3 separate regions of the Homo sapiens genome follow, and all the other regions are linked to region 2. Evidence: promoter capture Hi-C in human tissues and cell types (Jung and others, 2019). All regions are on one chromosome and are shown on one strand. Each heading gives the region's core, a stretch centred on a gene start or on the middle of the fragment in contact. The rest is flanking DNA. Distances are from core to core; before and after follow the strand shown.

Region 1 (4,584 bases), core at 1,110-3,609, 550 kb before region 2:
AACATTATTTTCGGTAACAAAAGTGGGAATAACTTTAAAATCAGAATTAGACTCTAGAACAGTGGGATGGCCAGTTCGTATAGGTATGTCCACTTTCGAAAAGCTAGCTAAAACTGGCATACTCATGCTGCTTGCTTGAGTGGAAGCACCTTGGAGAAGAACATTTGATTTATTAAGGCTTGGTTTGTCAGGAATAACTGAGACACAGTGTTTGCCTGTCAACTGGCCTTTCTCTTTTACACAGTCAGCCACTTCAACAGCATCATGTTCTTTGTCTAAATGACTCTCATTAACAATTCTGTTGATACTACCTCTCAGACTGCGTCTAGATTGTTCTCTTTCTATATATTCCTTTGACTTTTTCATCAGATTCTGAAGACTCATTACATAGGGATCTGGGATGACTTCTGCCAAAAGTGGTAGATCCTGTTGTTCATTTACTGAGAAGGGACCATCAGAAATAAGAGTTTCTTGTGGGGTTGCTGAAGAGGTCTTTGGAAAAGCTTCATTTTCTACATGACTAATATTGGAACTATCACATTGCTTCGGAGAATTAAATCCTTCTGAATCTCTAGCTAAGTCTATTCCATCAGTTTTACATTGGTCCTCATTATCCAATGGCAAAATCCCAGCTATCTTATCAAGCTTTGCTGCAGTAGAGTGTTCCGTATGGCTTGGAAAGCTATTTGGAAATGTAGCAGGAACATTCAAGTTTCTGACTTCTGAATTAGAGTAAACTGTTTCCATCTCCCACTGATCAAAATCACTGGCATTAGGTGCTTTTCTAACCTGAAACAGGAAATTTAAAAATTAATATTTCCTCATTGCACAAAAAGTCTCTGATTTCACTGTTTTCTAAAATAAAATTGAAATTGAAAATTCAGAATTCTGACATTTCAAAACATAAAGAAAAACTAAGATGACAGGTTTCTACGGTATCCTGTATCACAGGGGGCTCAAATTATTATTGAAAAGATGCCTACTGGTCATCCTGCCTAAGTTATTAAAAGAGTTATAAAAGAGTTATAAAAAGAAACATCTAATCTGATACAAATATGAACATATATATGTGTATACACACACACATATATTCATATATCCATGTGCAATTTAATCTTAGAATACAAGCACTTAAATTTCTTCTAGTCATATGTTATTAACATTACCAACTGTTCCTCCTAGGATAGCTATCATCCAAGGATAATAATATATGCAATAAACAGCAAGTAATGAAATGTCTTACGTAAACGATTCCCTCTCTAACAAAGACTAACTTGTCCAGGACATTGATTAAGCAAAAATGATTCAGTAATAAGACTCCTGCACCTACATGCTTACTCCAAAGTTTAACTAAACTTTGTCTCAAAAATGAATGAATGAATGAATGAATGAATGTAAAAATAGATATTTTGTATCTAAATAATCCAACTTTGCAAAAGAATAAAAAGAGAACTAGGATAGTTTCTAAAGGTAATTATACATCCGTATATTAAACTGGCAAAAATCATTGTATTATCATATGAATACAGACATCAAAAGCCTGACTACTGGCGGGGCATGGTGGCTCACGCCTGTAATCCCAGCACTTTGGGAGGCCGAGGCGGGCGGATCATGAGGTCAGGAGATCAAGATCATCCTGGCTAACACAGTGAAACTCCATCTCTACTAAAAATACAAAAAATTAGCTGGGCTTGGTGGTGGGCACCTGTAGTCCCAGCTACTCAGGAGGCTGAAGCAAGAGAATGGCATGAATCTGGGAGGCGGAGCTTGCAGTGAGCCAAGATCACGTCACTGCACTCCGGCCTGGGCGACAGAGCGCGACTCCATCTCAGAAAAAAAAAAAAAAAAAAAAAAAAGTCTGAATATTACAATATTTTTTGGTTGTTTTGAATGTGCTTGTTTTTTTCTAGACCACATGGCTCTCCTATTTTACGTTACAAATCCCAAGACAGGTAATGGTTTCCAGGTACTATGCAATACACAGTACAATAAGACATACTTAGTCACAACCTCAGAACCAAAATAAAACAAAAAAGATGCAAAAAGGTTTCCAGGTACTATGCAATCAACAGTACAAGAGTACAAGACATACTTAGTCACAGCCTCAGGACCAAAATAAAACAAAAAGGATGCATATTTATGAAATCCATGAACATGTTCACAGGTTTAAGTAAAACAGATGATTTCCTTACGTAAAATATTTCACATTTGTGATATTCGGAAGCTATGTTGTTTATACGTCACTAAAATGAGCCTTTAGTTAGACAAGTTAAATAACAACAAGAAAAAAATCTATCATAGAATCTTAGGTTTTACAGGTGAAGCAGAAATCTAATTGTATTATATAAAATTTTCCTATCTGAATAATTAATTCATTACAGTTCAACATTATACATGCTCTTTTAACAATTTTATTAGTAGTATATTTTATCTTCCCTCAATGGACCAAGAATGATATGCCATTTTCATTTCAATCACAGGAAATACGTAGTAAGTAAAAAACCTACCTCTTATTGTTAAATTAGTGCTACTCAATACATTTTTTAAACTTAATATGGACAGTAATTATAATCTGCAAAATGAAATCTACTACCCACACACTATATACTACTGTGAAAGGGAAATAATATCTCAGGACCCCAAACTCAACTATGTCACATGAGAGTCACTATGACTCTCATTAACAATTCTCTTAATACTACCTCTCAGCCTGCGTCTAGATTGTTCTCTTTCTATATATTCCTTTGACTTTTTCATCAGATTCTGAAGACTCATTACATAGGGATTTCGAGTAACTGAAATGGAAAATCACATGTCAAAGGAAAAAGTAAAGCTTAGGAACTGAGTCACACAAAAACTGCCTTCCTTTTATTCCTAAACAGATAGCTGCAAAATAGAAGGCCACCTATCTACCCAGGTAGACTCTCTTGCAAATTGCTCACAAGGAAATTCCTCGTAGGCCCCAAAATCTTTACACCAACCCAGAGTTCTGCTGAATTTCACTCTGACAAGATACGGACAAAGACCAAAGATGACTAGAAATCATCCCTTTGGAGACAAATGTATATTTGACTTCTTCCTCTACTCTGCTTACTTTATCCTATGTAAAATGCAGATTTATTGAGCTTGAGATGAATGCATAACTGACTGTTCCTCTACCCCCACCTTTCTCATGCGACTTGTGGATTCAGTGAGTGCTAATCAAAGCCTCACAAAAATGTGATCGCTTATCTCATTACCTACCCTCCTTTTTTTTTCTTTCCTCTTTCCCCTCCTGCTGTTCTCTCCCCTTTATACACTGAAGTCCTCAAAACCTCTTCTGGAAAAGCATAAGCCACAGATTCTACTGTAACTTTTGTCTCTTTTTCCTTGGCACATCCTCAACCTTGGCAAAACAAACCTCTAAATCGATTGAGACTTGCCTCAGTCATTTTCTTCAGTTTACACTACCAACAGAGAAATGAACCCTTAAGGTTCATTATACACGTGTCATCGATACGAATTAAACAGACAAACCACAAACTCCTAAGATTATGAAAAAACAAAAAGATGTTACCAGCAGAACACTGCTATATGTTGTAGAAATTATTCGTTCAATCTAATTCATTTGTTTTTCTTTTTAGTACAAAATGATCCACATGTCAGAACAAATTGTTTATACAAATCTAAAAATAACTGCACAAGGTGTAGATGTGTTGTTTAAATAGTTTTTAGACATAGGATGCATCTAAACAATTCAATGTTATCTAAACTGCATTTTGTGTATCTAAGAGTTTTCACCAAAAAAAAATTGGAGGCAGTTATTTACTTAAGCAAAGAATGAGAATAAGGTCATTTAGTCAATAGTCTAATTAGTTTGGGGTAAACAATAATACCCAATTCTGTCATTTTGTCACTGAGAATTCAATGTTTTTAGAGTCATAAGATGCAAACAATAAGCAATTATATTCAGTGTATGGTTCTATTGTGTAAATATCCTCTGATTCAAGTACTGGGCATTACTAACAAGCAAGTACATTCTCTTTGGAGTAACTGAAATGGAAAATCACAAATTATGAAGCTTCTCAAACGTAACAGTAAAGTACATTAGTAATTAGTTAAGTGCAAATATATTTCAGAAAAATTATCATCAACGCTTATCTTATGATTTCTTTATTATAACTGAAACAGCTAAAATCACACACCTGAACATTGTCAAGAATCTCCTGGACACGAGTCAGTAAAGCTTTCTTCCTGTTAACCTGCTTTCTTGCTTCTACATCAAGTGCTTTCTGCTTTTCTTGTTGCATTTCCTTTCTTTTCTCAATGTTAAGCTGCAAAACATCATAAAAATGTAATTATTTCCCACGATAAAAATATCATAAAATCGGGAAGTTGTGAATCAGAAAGATTAAAAACATGTGCAACAGGCAAAACTAATGTATAGTGAAAGAAATCAGAACAATGGTCTGGGTACTGAGTGGGATGGGGCATTAGAGATCTTTCCATGGTGAAGAAAATCCTGTGTGGGTGTGAGTTATACATGTGTATGCCATATATCAAAACTCATGGAACTTTAACACTTAAGATTTGTGCATTTTGCTA
Region 2 (5,070 bases), core at 922-3,421:
AAAGTTTTATGTAAGCAGGGGAGTGATCTGTTTTATCATTTAGAAGGATACATACCTCTTCTTTTTTTTTTAGAGACAGGGTCTAGTTCTGTCACCCAGGCTGGAGCCCAGTGTCATAATCATAGCTTACTGTAACCTCAAACTCCTGGGCTCAAGTGATCCTCCTGCCTCAGCATCCCAAAGTGCTGGATTACAGGCATGAGTCACCATGCCTGGTCACACTTCTCATTCTTTAAACCAGACCTCATTTGTCGCCTCCCCCATCCCCCGCCCCACCCCACGGACTGTCCTATAATGCCCATACAACAGGTCACTGTTTAGAAAGTGCTACAAAGTTACAAACACAGTCCCTTCTGAGCCTCCCACCAATGTTGGTGGGTACAAGATCAAAAAAAAAAAAAAAAAACTCATCTATCTAAGGGGCATAGAAGACTTTTTAGTTAGAGGGCCCAATTATAGTCCTCCTGAAAAGATGCCAAAAGTCCCCTCATACACTTAGCAAAGATGCAAGAAAGATGAATCTCACATTCTTTGTATGGGAAATGAGGAACTTGACATCTTCAATATAATGGATTCCACTAAAATAAGATGACTATTAATAGGAACCAACTAAAAAAATACTTGACTAGCTGTTATTGAAAGGCTGAAATTCAGCTGACATAAGCAGTATTAATATTGAGCTAGAAAATAATTCGCATTGAATCCACCCCAACTTTTGTTTTCTGATTTGGGTCTCTTCTAAATTTTTTTTTTCTTCTGGACATTGGGAACAATCCAATTTGAAGGCCTCAATGACCAAATCTACACTCATGTTTTATTCTATATCCTTGGTTTCTTTTTTTTTTTTTGAAACAGTCTTGGTCTGTCGCCCAGGCTGGAGTGCAGTGGCGCAATCTCGGCTCACTGCAACCTCCGCCTCCCGGGTTCAAGCTATTCTCTGCCTCAGCCTCCCAAGTAGCTGGGATTACAAGCACCCACCACCACTCCTGGCTAATTTTTGTATCTTCAGTAGAGATGGGGTTTCACCATCTTGGCCAGGCTGGTCTTGAACTCCTGACCTCGTGATCCACCCGCCTCAGCCTCCCAAAGTGCTGGGATTACAGGCGTGAGCCACCACGCCCGGCCCTACATCCTTGGTTTCAGTAAATCTCTATTCTAAAACTGAAAAAGAGAAAACATTGCAGATAAAACTTTACAGCAGGGTCTTGTGTTTTGTTCAGGACAAGATTCGTAAGCTCCAAATGCTACAAGGAACCCTGCCTGAGTGCTGGCAACTTTTTTATCCTGACTGGGCAGCCGTTGTACATATTTCTGTAGAAATTCATGGAGCTGTATACTTTACTGTAATTCTACCCGATACAAAAGATTATAATACTTGGCTGGCTACCATTTATTGTGACTGTCTAGCCACAATGCCAGGCACTGTGCTAGACACATCACACGATTCTCAGCTAATCCCCGCCCCATTCTATTCCCATTTTACTGCTGAAGGATCTGAGGCTCAGAGAAGGCAAGCCACTTACCAAAGGTCCCACAGCAATAAACAGACAAGGCAGAATTCGGTTTCAAGTTGGTCTAACTGTATGTGAAGGCTGAAATGTCCGGGAGGCAGGCACCTCATACCAGAATGTTAGGCGTGGAGGGGGTGCTCAAATCCTTTCATTTAACAGCAGATGAGGCTATTGAAAGACTGTCTCGGTCAACAGCTGGAAGACAAACCCACCACGGTCCAGACTGCAGTTCTCGTGTCCTTTTGGCCCGGCTGGGTTCCACTGGATTGGATGAGGACGCGTTTGTGGAGGGAGCAGGAATAAGGAAGATCTCCTTCCCACCTGCTGTTCCCCAGAGCCGGGAGCACCCGGCGTCGGGGGTGGGAGGGAACAGCGGCCAGGCCGAGCCTCCAGCACCCGGCTCCCTCCGTGCGCCCTCGGACCCCAGGGGCACCGTCCCCGCGCGCGCTCCCTGCCGCCCTACCTGGATGGACCGCCGGCTGCCGGCTGGGCCTGCCGGGCTGGAGCGCACTGCCGCTGGACTCGCTCATGGCCGCGCCCCGCGCTCCTCAGAGGCTGCCGAGGACCCTCTCCAGCCGCCGCCGCCGCCGCCGCCTCCCCGGCCTTCCCTCGCGGAGCCGGGATTCCAGGTTCCGGCGCTGACATCACAGAAGCCGGAGTGGGGCGCCCCCGCGAGGAGCCGAGCATCAGGGACCGCAGAGGGGCTGCAGAGCCCGGGAGATCCGGCAAGGCTCCATCCAGCGGTGGCGACAAGCAGCGACCTCCCTGATGTCTCACTGAGCTTAAAAAATAACAATAGATTGGGCGCACTGGGAGCCCAGTCTCCACCAGGACCCGGTACACCCATGTAACAAACATGCACATGGACCCCCTGCATCTAAAATCAAACCTGATCTAATAAAGAAATAAATAACAAAAATAACTGGTTGGGAGTGGTGGCTCACGTCTGTAATCCTCGCATTTTGGGAGTCCGAGGCTGGAGGACCGCACGAACTCACAAGTTTGAGACCAACCTGGCCAACACAGTGAGACCCCCATCTTTAAAATTAAAAAATAAAAAGTCCACACGCAAAAAACCCCAAGACTCCAAATCAGTGCATCTAGTAAGTTACCATTTGGGAACAAAAAGGAAACCAAAAAATATATTTGTACATGCTTGTAAATGCCTAAGCTATCTCCCTAGAGGGTGCAAAAAACTGGCTACCTGTGGTAGCTCTGGGTGGGGAGCTAGAGGGCCGAGTGAAGAGAAAACCACGTGCAGTGTTTGTCTTTTACGTTTTGCACTATATCCTCGTTTCATCTCTACCTCTGTTCGTGTGCAGGTTAAAAACATAAAATTGCCAGGCGCAGTGGCTCACACCTGTAATCTCACCACTTTGAGAGGCCGAGGCGGGAGGATCACCTGAGGTCAGGAGTTCGAGACTATCCTGGCCAACACGGTGAAACCCTGTCTCTACTAAAAATACAAAATTAGCCTGGCATGGTAGTGCATGCCTGTAGTCCCAGCTACCAGGGAGGCTGAGGCAGGAGAATCGCTGGAACCCAGGAGGCAGAGGTTGCAGTGAGCCGAGATCACGCCACTGCACTCCAGCCTGGGCGACAGAAGGAGACTCCATCTCAGAAAAAAAAAGAAAAAGAAAAGTAATTGCTAAATATAAATAAATGGGGAAAATGGAGAGAAATCTCCTGTGCAGATTTTGAAATCATTTACGTAGATACTTTAAGGATGGGGAGCTTAGCTCCCTACTCCTTAAGTGTGAGTTGCCCATAGCGACATCCTTCCAAAAGAGTGCAGTATGGAAGTGGTGGTGGAAGAGGGTGAGGGTGGGTTTTATATTAGATAATACCTGACAAACACTGTCTCAGACAGATGATCAAAGTTAACATCATCCGGGATCAGTGGCTCACACCTGTAATCCCAGCACTTTGGGAGGCCGAGGCAGGTGGATCACTTGAGGTCAGGAGTTCGAGACCAGCCTGGCCAACATGGCGAAACCCTGTCTCTACCAAAAATACAAAAAAATTAGCTGGGCATGGTGGCGGGCGCCTGTAATCCCAGCTACTAGGGAGGCTGAGGCAGGAGAATCTCTTGAACCCAGGAGGCGGAGGTTGCAGTGAGTCGAGATTGCACTACTGCACTCCAGCCTGGGCAACAGAGTAAGACTCCATCTCAAAAAAAAAAAGTAAATAAGTAAATAAGTTAACATCAACATTAAGCCATGAGGATGGTGTGCACCCTTCCTACGATGGGATGAGAAGGGCACTTTACCTCTGTGGTCATAAGAAAAATATCAGACAAATTCAACTGAGGGGCATTCTACAGAATACCTGATTAGTATTCCTCAAAACTGTCAAGGTCATTTAAAAAAAAAAAAAAAGGAGGCTGGAGACTGGGTGTGGTGGCTCATGCCTGTAATCCCAGCACTTTGGGAGGCCAAGGCAGGTGGATCGCAAGGTCAGGAGTTCGAGACCAGCCTGGCCAAGATGGTGAAACCCTGTCTCTACTAAAAAAAATACAAAAAATTAGCTGTGTATGGTGGTGGGCACCTGTAACCCCAGCTACTCAGGAGGCTGAGGCAGAGAATTGCTTGAACCCAGGAAGCGGAGCTTGCAGTGAGCCGAGATTGTGCCACTGCACTCCAGCCTGAGCAACAGAGTGAGACTCCGTCTCAAAAAAAAAAAAGGCTGGACGCAGTGGCTCATGCCTATAATCCCAGCACTTTAGAAGGCTGAGGTAGGAGGATGGCTTGAGCCCAGGAGTTGGAGACTAGCCTGAGCAACACAGTGAGACCCCATCTCTCCAAAAAATTTTAAAAATTATCTGAATGTGGTGGTGCACGCCTATAATCTGAGCTACTCAGTTCCTGGAACACAAGTTAAAACACATTAAAAACTATGGAAATCTTAATAAAGTAGGGACTTCAGTTAATAGTCATGTATCACTCTTGGTTCATTAATTGTGAGAAATGTACCATATTGATGTAGGATGTTAATAGTAGGGGAAACTGGGCGTGGGCCATGTGAAAACTCACTATCTTATCCTCAAAGGTTTTCTGTAGATCCAAAACTATTCCAAAACAGAAAATTATGTGTGTGGGTAAGTAATTTCCTGGCTCAAAATAAAAGCTATTTTTTATTTATTTATTTATTTTGAGACAGAGTCTCACTCTGTTGCCCAGGCTGGCGGCAGTGGCACAGTCTTGGCTCACTGCAACCTCTGCCTCCCAGGTTCAAGCAATTCTCCTGCCTCAGCCTCCCGAGTAGCTGGGATTACAGGCACCTGCCACCATACCGGCTAATTTTTGTATTTTTAGTAGAGATGGTGTTTCGCCATGTTGGCCAGGCTGGTCTCAAACCACCGACCTCAAGTGATTCGCCCATCTTGGCCTCCCAAAGTGCTGGGATGACAGGCATGAGCCACCGTGCCCAGCTGATAAAAGCTGTTTTTATTGTGGTTAAGGGTAAGGTCACTGGATGGGAACCTGGTTTCTGATTATTTCCTATGTGAGCTGGACCATGTGCCACAAACTTTCTGAGCCTGTTTTCTCATCTGTAAAAT
Region 3 (4,534 bases), core at 438-2,937, 530 kb before region 2:
TGACTTAAAATATTTTTTAAAAAATTAAAAATCTTGATCATAGCTGGGCACAGTGGCTCACACCTGTAATCCCAGCACTTTGGGAGACTGAGGCAGGAGGATTGCTTGATCTCAGGAGTTCGAGACCAGCCTGGACAACATGGTGAAACCCCATCTCTACAAAAAATACAAAAATTAGCTGGGCATGGTGGCACGTGCCAGTAGTCCCGGCTACTTGGGAGACTGAGGTGGGAGGATGGCTTGAACCCAGGAGGCGGAGGTTTTAGTGAGCCGAGATCATGCCACTGCACTCTAGCCTGAACAACAGAGCCAGATCCTGTCTCCAAAAAAAAAAAAAAAGAAAGAAATCTTCATCGTAATGAGCATTTCACATCTTTATTGTGATGAGGAAGCCAAGGAAGCAAACATTAAATAGTGTGTCTCCAGAGGAGCATGGCTCGTGTAATTTAAGGTTCAAATTCTCTTTTTAGATAAATTCTAATCTACCTCATCAAGCTTAACAACTTATGGGCCAACAGCCAGTGCTGCTTACATAAACAAAATGTGATATGTCCTAGAAGCAGGCGTGGTGTCTTTGTGGTAGAGGGTGGAATTAAACCAACAAAAACCTGACTCATTTATGCCAAAGTAGTGAAATATCTGACTAATCAACAACCGTAGGGTGATCATCAGAACTGCTGTACCAACAAATAGTGTAGGTAAACAGTGGAATTGTCTAAGTATTCATAAGCCATTGATGACCCATATAGTTAAACATCCAGAGAAAACATAAGTTCCTGAAGTCTCCTAGTCTTCCACTGTGAAAGTAAGAAGAGTGGGAAAATTAAAGTTTTTAAGGAATCCATCAGTTAGGAATTGAAGTAAGGTTATATACACAGAAAACAGAAACAGATCAGGATTGCTGTTTGGTGGGGGAAGTGGAAGGAAAATGAATCAAAAAGGACAGCTGTCTTAGGAGCCCTGCTGGTCTTTTGGGTGGTTAGATGCAAAATAATGTTTGTGGCCATTTGACAGTAATATTCTTGATGTTTTTGTTAAGGCAGCTAAGAATGGAGCAACAGGCGTGGAGTTGGACATTGAGTTTACTTCTGACGGGATTCCTGTCTTAATGCACGATAACACAGTAGATAGGACGACTGATGGGACTGGGCGATTGTGTGATTTGACATTTGAACAAATTAGGAAGCTGAATCCTGCAGCAAACCACAGACTCAGGTAAGTAGTTTATTGTCACTTAAACAGATCTTTTAGCTTTTATTGGAAATGACAGACACTGGTGCCTTCTAATTACATCTGCCCCAGGAGAGTTGTCTTGTTTTGTTTTGAACTGTACGTAGGTCTTGTAAGTAATGAGCAAGTGCCAGGAACAACAGAAATTTGGCATTATGTTTTTAATCTTTCCCACTGAGGCTAAATTTGGCTTCAGAATTATTGTCAAGATAATACTGTCTAGTCATAGAATCATGAGGCTGAAAGTCATTGCTTGGCAATCTTCTTGCCTTCAGGTGTACCAAGAAGCAAATTATACATTCATTAAAAGCTTCAAGTAACATTATAATATCACATTTTAACTTAACCCATTTAATTCTTCTGATCCTCATAACAAACTTCTGAGGAATCACAGAATTGTAGGAATAGAGAGTATCCTAGAAATCATCTAGAATAGCACTTTGCAGTAGAACTTTCTGCAATGATGGAAATATTTTATATCTGCACTGTGTAATATGGTAGGTACTTGTGGCTATTGAGCACTTGATATGTGGCTAGTGACACGAGGAAGTGAATTTTTAATTTAAATGTAAATTTAAACTGAAATAGCCATGTGTGGCTACCATATAGGATACTACAGATCTAGATCAATCTTGCCTTTAGATATAATCCCAGAAAAGTTAAATTATTTACTCAAGGGCAAATAACTAGTTCATAAAGAAGCCAAAACTAGAATCTATCCCAAGTTTTAGTCCAAATCATGCTGTTTTTAGCTGCCCCCAATGTCTTTCAACCCTGTAAGAGCAAAAGTTCTTTCAGTGTCTAATTTAATTCCTTCCTGGTAGAGTGTAAACGTAGCTTCCAAAGTATATACACTAGAGCTAATCTTACAAGATGTTCTGCAAAAACAGGGTTCAAGTAAGATCAAACAGTGTATTCTGAATACTTCTGTTGTGGATAAACAGTCCACATCAGCTGATTCTTACTTGTAACTTAGCTTTTCTCAAACTTACATGATCACAGAACCTACATCCTCTTCCCCACTTACAGCGGTAAACACCCTTGGAATTGGTATGCTGAGTAATATACTGTACTTTGGAATGTGGTTATTTAAATCCCTCTCTGCTTGTCATCTTTGCAGTACTGAAAAGGGTGTGCTCACTGGTTATTCATGTAATATCAATTATCCAGACAATGATCGATTCTCTTGGAAAATTAAGTATTTGACCCAACAGTTAAGTTATACTTTTTCCTAAAAGATGATCCAGACCTGTTTTCCTAGGATCTGAAAAACATTAGTCTGCCGAAGGAAGTCATACTGTAGGCAGGAAAGAATATTGGTAACACTTGAGAATTATGAGTCCAAGTTGCTAGAATTGTTCTTGAGTGTCATCAGATACTGTATTGCTCTGCTTATGCAAGGGAAAGGCTGGTTTGAATATTATAATGACATTGCAGCTAATAAAATGTCAGGTTCAAAGTTAATACTTAAAGCAAAAATGTTTAGGGTCATCATTACCCTTAAAAATCCTTTAAGGGAGCACTGAGTCCATTTCTCTGGAATTTGTGCATCCTAGGAAAAAAAATTGTGATTTTCAAAAAATCCCTTAAGAAGACAGCAAAGGCAACATATTATCTCAGTGTCTTTAACACAACCAGTCTTTGCTCCACTATTGGAACAGAGTGTGTTCTATGATTGAAAACTAAATGAAGTAATTGGCTTGTGTTTACGGATTATGTTGTGGGAAAAAATAGATATTTTCTCTAGAATTATGCTCAGTGTGATGAGATGCTTGTCCTGAGAGGAGGATAAGGAGGAAACTAAGATCAGCCAAAGGAATAACAAATTCAGGTCTCCCATCTTTCACTCTCAGGGAATAGAAATTGATTAGAATGGCTGGGATAATTGCCTGTAATGTTTAAATTATCCTTATCTTTTTTTTTTTTTTTTTTGAGTTGGAGTTTCACTCTTGTTGCCCAGTTTGGAGTGCAATGGCATGATCTTGGCTCACTGCAACCTCCACCTCCCGGGTTCAAGTGATTCTCCTGCCTCAGCCTCCAGAATGCTGGGATTACAGGCACATGCCACCACACCCAGCTAATTTTTGCATTTTTAGTAGAAACGGGGTTTCGCCATGTTGGCCAGGCTGGTCTCGAACTCCTGACCTCAGGTGATCTGCCTGCCTCAGCTTCCCAAAGTGCTGAATTTACAGGCATGAGCCCACTGTACCTGGCCTATCCTTACCCTTTTTTAAAAGCATGATCTTACAGTTGAAATAATGCAGTTGAATTAGCATTAAGTTAAATAATAATTTTATTATGAGAGAAAAGCTAATTTCTTTTGTATCAAGCACTTAGTTTTCATTTTCTTTATCAGAAAATTATGTCTTAGAACATTATTTATTTTAAACAGTTGCACTTAAATAAATACACAATACAGTTAACAGATTTATGTATTCCTAAGAATTCCTCCTGCATAGCATTCTATTAGGGAAATTACAATCTGAAAATTAAGTCTTTGAGTTTTCCAAAGGTGGCATATACTCTGCCCTTTGGGAAGTAGGGTTATTAATAATGTTATTAATTCAATAGAAATTCAGTGATTTCTTAAAAATTAAATGATTTTTGTTGTTGTTGCTGGTCTTTGGTCAAGAATATCTGTATTTGAACACATGGAGGTTCCTGAATGATGGAGCACTCAGAAAGGGCATGGAAGCTCTATGCCCCTTTCCCCATACCTCACCCTATGCATGTCTTCATCTGTATGCTGTGTAACATACTTTATAATAAACCTGTAAACGTGTTTGAGTTCCGCAAGCCACTCTAACAAATTAATTGAACCCAAGGAGGAGGAGGTGGGAACCCCAATTTATAGCTAGTGTCAGAAGCACAGAATTACCAGAAAAGGAAAACAAATCAAAACAAAACAAAACAAAAAACAGAAAAATAACATCCATTATACAATATAAGAAACCAAAGACCATCAATCTCTAATCTCTGTGCTCAGGTGTCTGTGTGCTTCAATTCTTCTCATCTACGAGTCTTGGGTTTTCAATGCTCACTTGTCACCAGGATATGAATTAAAAATGTCTTGGGCACCACCATGTGGTCCAGTTGTCTTAACCTTTCTAAAAGTGCTTGTGCAAACCATTTACTTGTTGCTTCTTACACAATTACAGCCCAACCTACTTGTGTTTAAAAGCAACCACAGCATGTTTGAAAGTCTTATGCAATAAAAGGGAAGTTTATGATTACATTTAGTCTGTACTTACTGGATACTTTCAGTTTTATCAGTTCCAAGTACAGCAAACTCTGGATAATATGG

What was found. The method cuts DNA at HindIII sites, captures the fragments that hold promoters and counts their contacts. A contact is called where the count stands out against the background at its distance.
Region 1: a fragment that was not itself captured here is called in contact with the fragment with the promoter of TMC7 in region 2 in 2 of the 25 tissues and cell types used here (dorsolateral prefrontal cortex and hippocampus).
Region 3: a contact is called between a fragment that was not itself captured here and the fragment with the promoter of TMC7 in region 2, in 1 of the 25 tissues and cell types used here (dorsolateral prefrontal cortex).

What each region holds. Positions count from the first base shown.
Region 1 is chr16:19,532,145-19,536,728 of GRCh38, reverse strand. It overlaps CCP110 (centriolar coiled-coil protein 110), which reads right to left. Exons shown (of 14, transcript NM_001323572.2): 3 at 4,185-4,313; 4 at 1-789. Among named protein-coding and RNA genes, the nearest start is that of CCP110, 10 kb to the right of the region's middle. The HindIII fragment of the contact is 3,569 bases long and covers 575-4,143 here.
Region 2 is chr16:18,981,035-18,986,104 of GRCh38, reverse strand. TMC7 (transmembrane channel like 7) reads right to left here and starts at 2,171. Exons shown (of 16, transcript NM_024847.4): 1 at 1,975-2,171. The coding sequence starts at 2,041. RefSeq lists a silencer at 2,201-2,260. The HindIII fragment of the contact is 36,131 bases long and covers 1-5,070 here.
Region 3 is chr16:19,513,695-19,518,228 of GRCh38, reverse strand. It overlaps GDE1 (glycerophosphodiester phosphodiesterase 1), which reads left to right. Exons shown (of 6, transcript NM_016641.4): 2 at 1,040-1,215. Among named protein-coding and RNA genes, the nearest start is that of GDE1, 6.1 kb to the left of the region's middle. The HindIII fragment of the contact is 3,843 bases long and covers 1-3,608 here.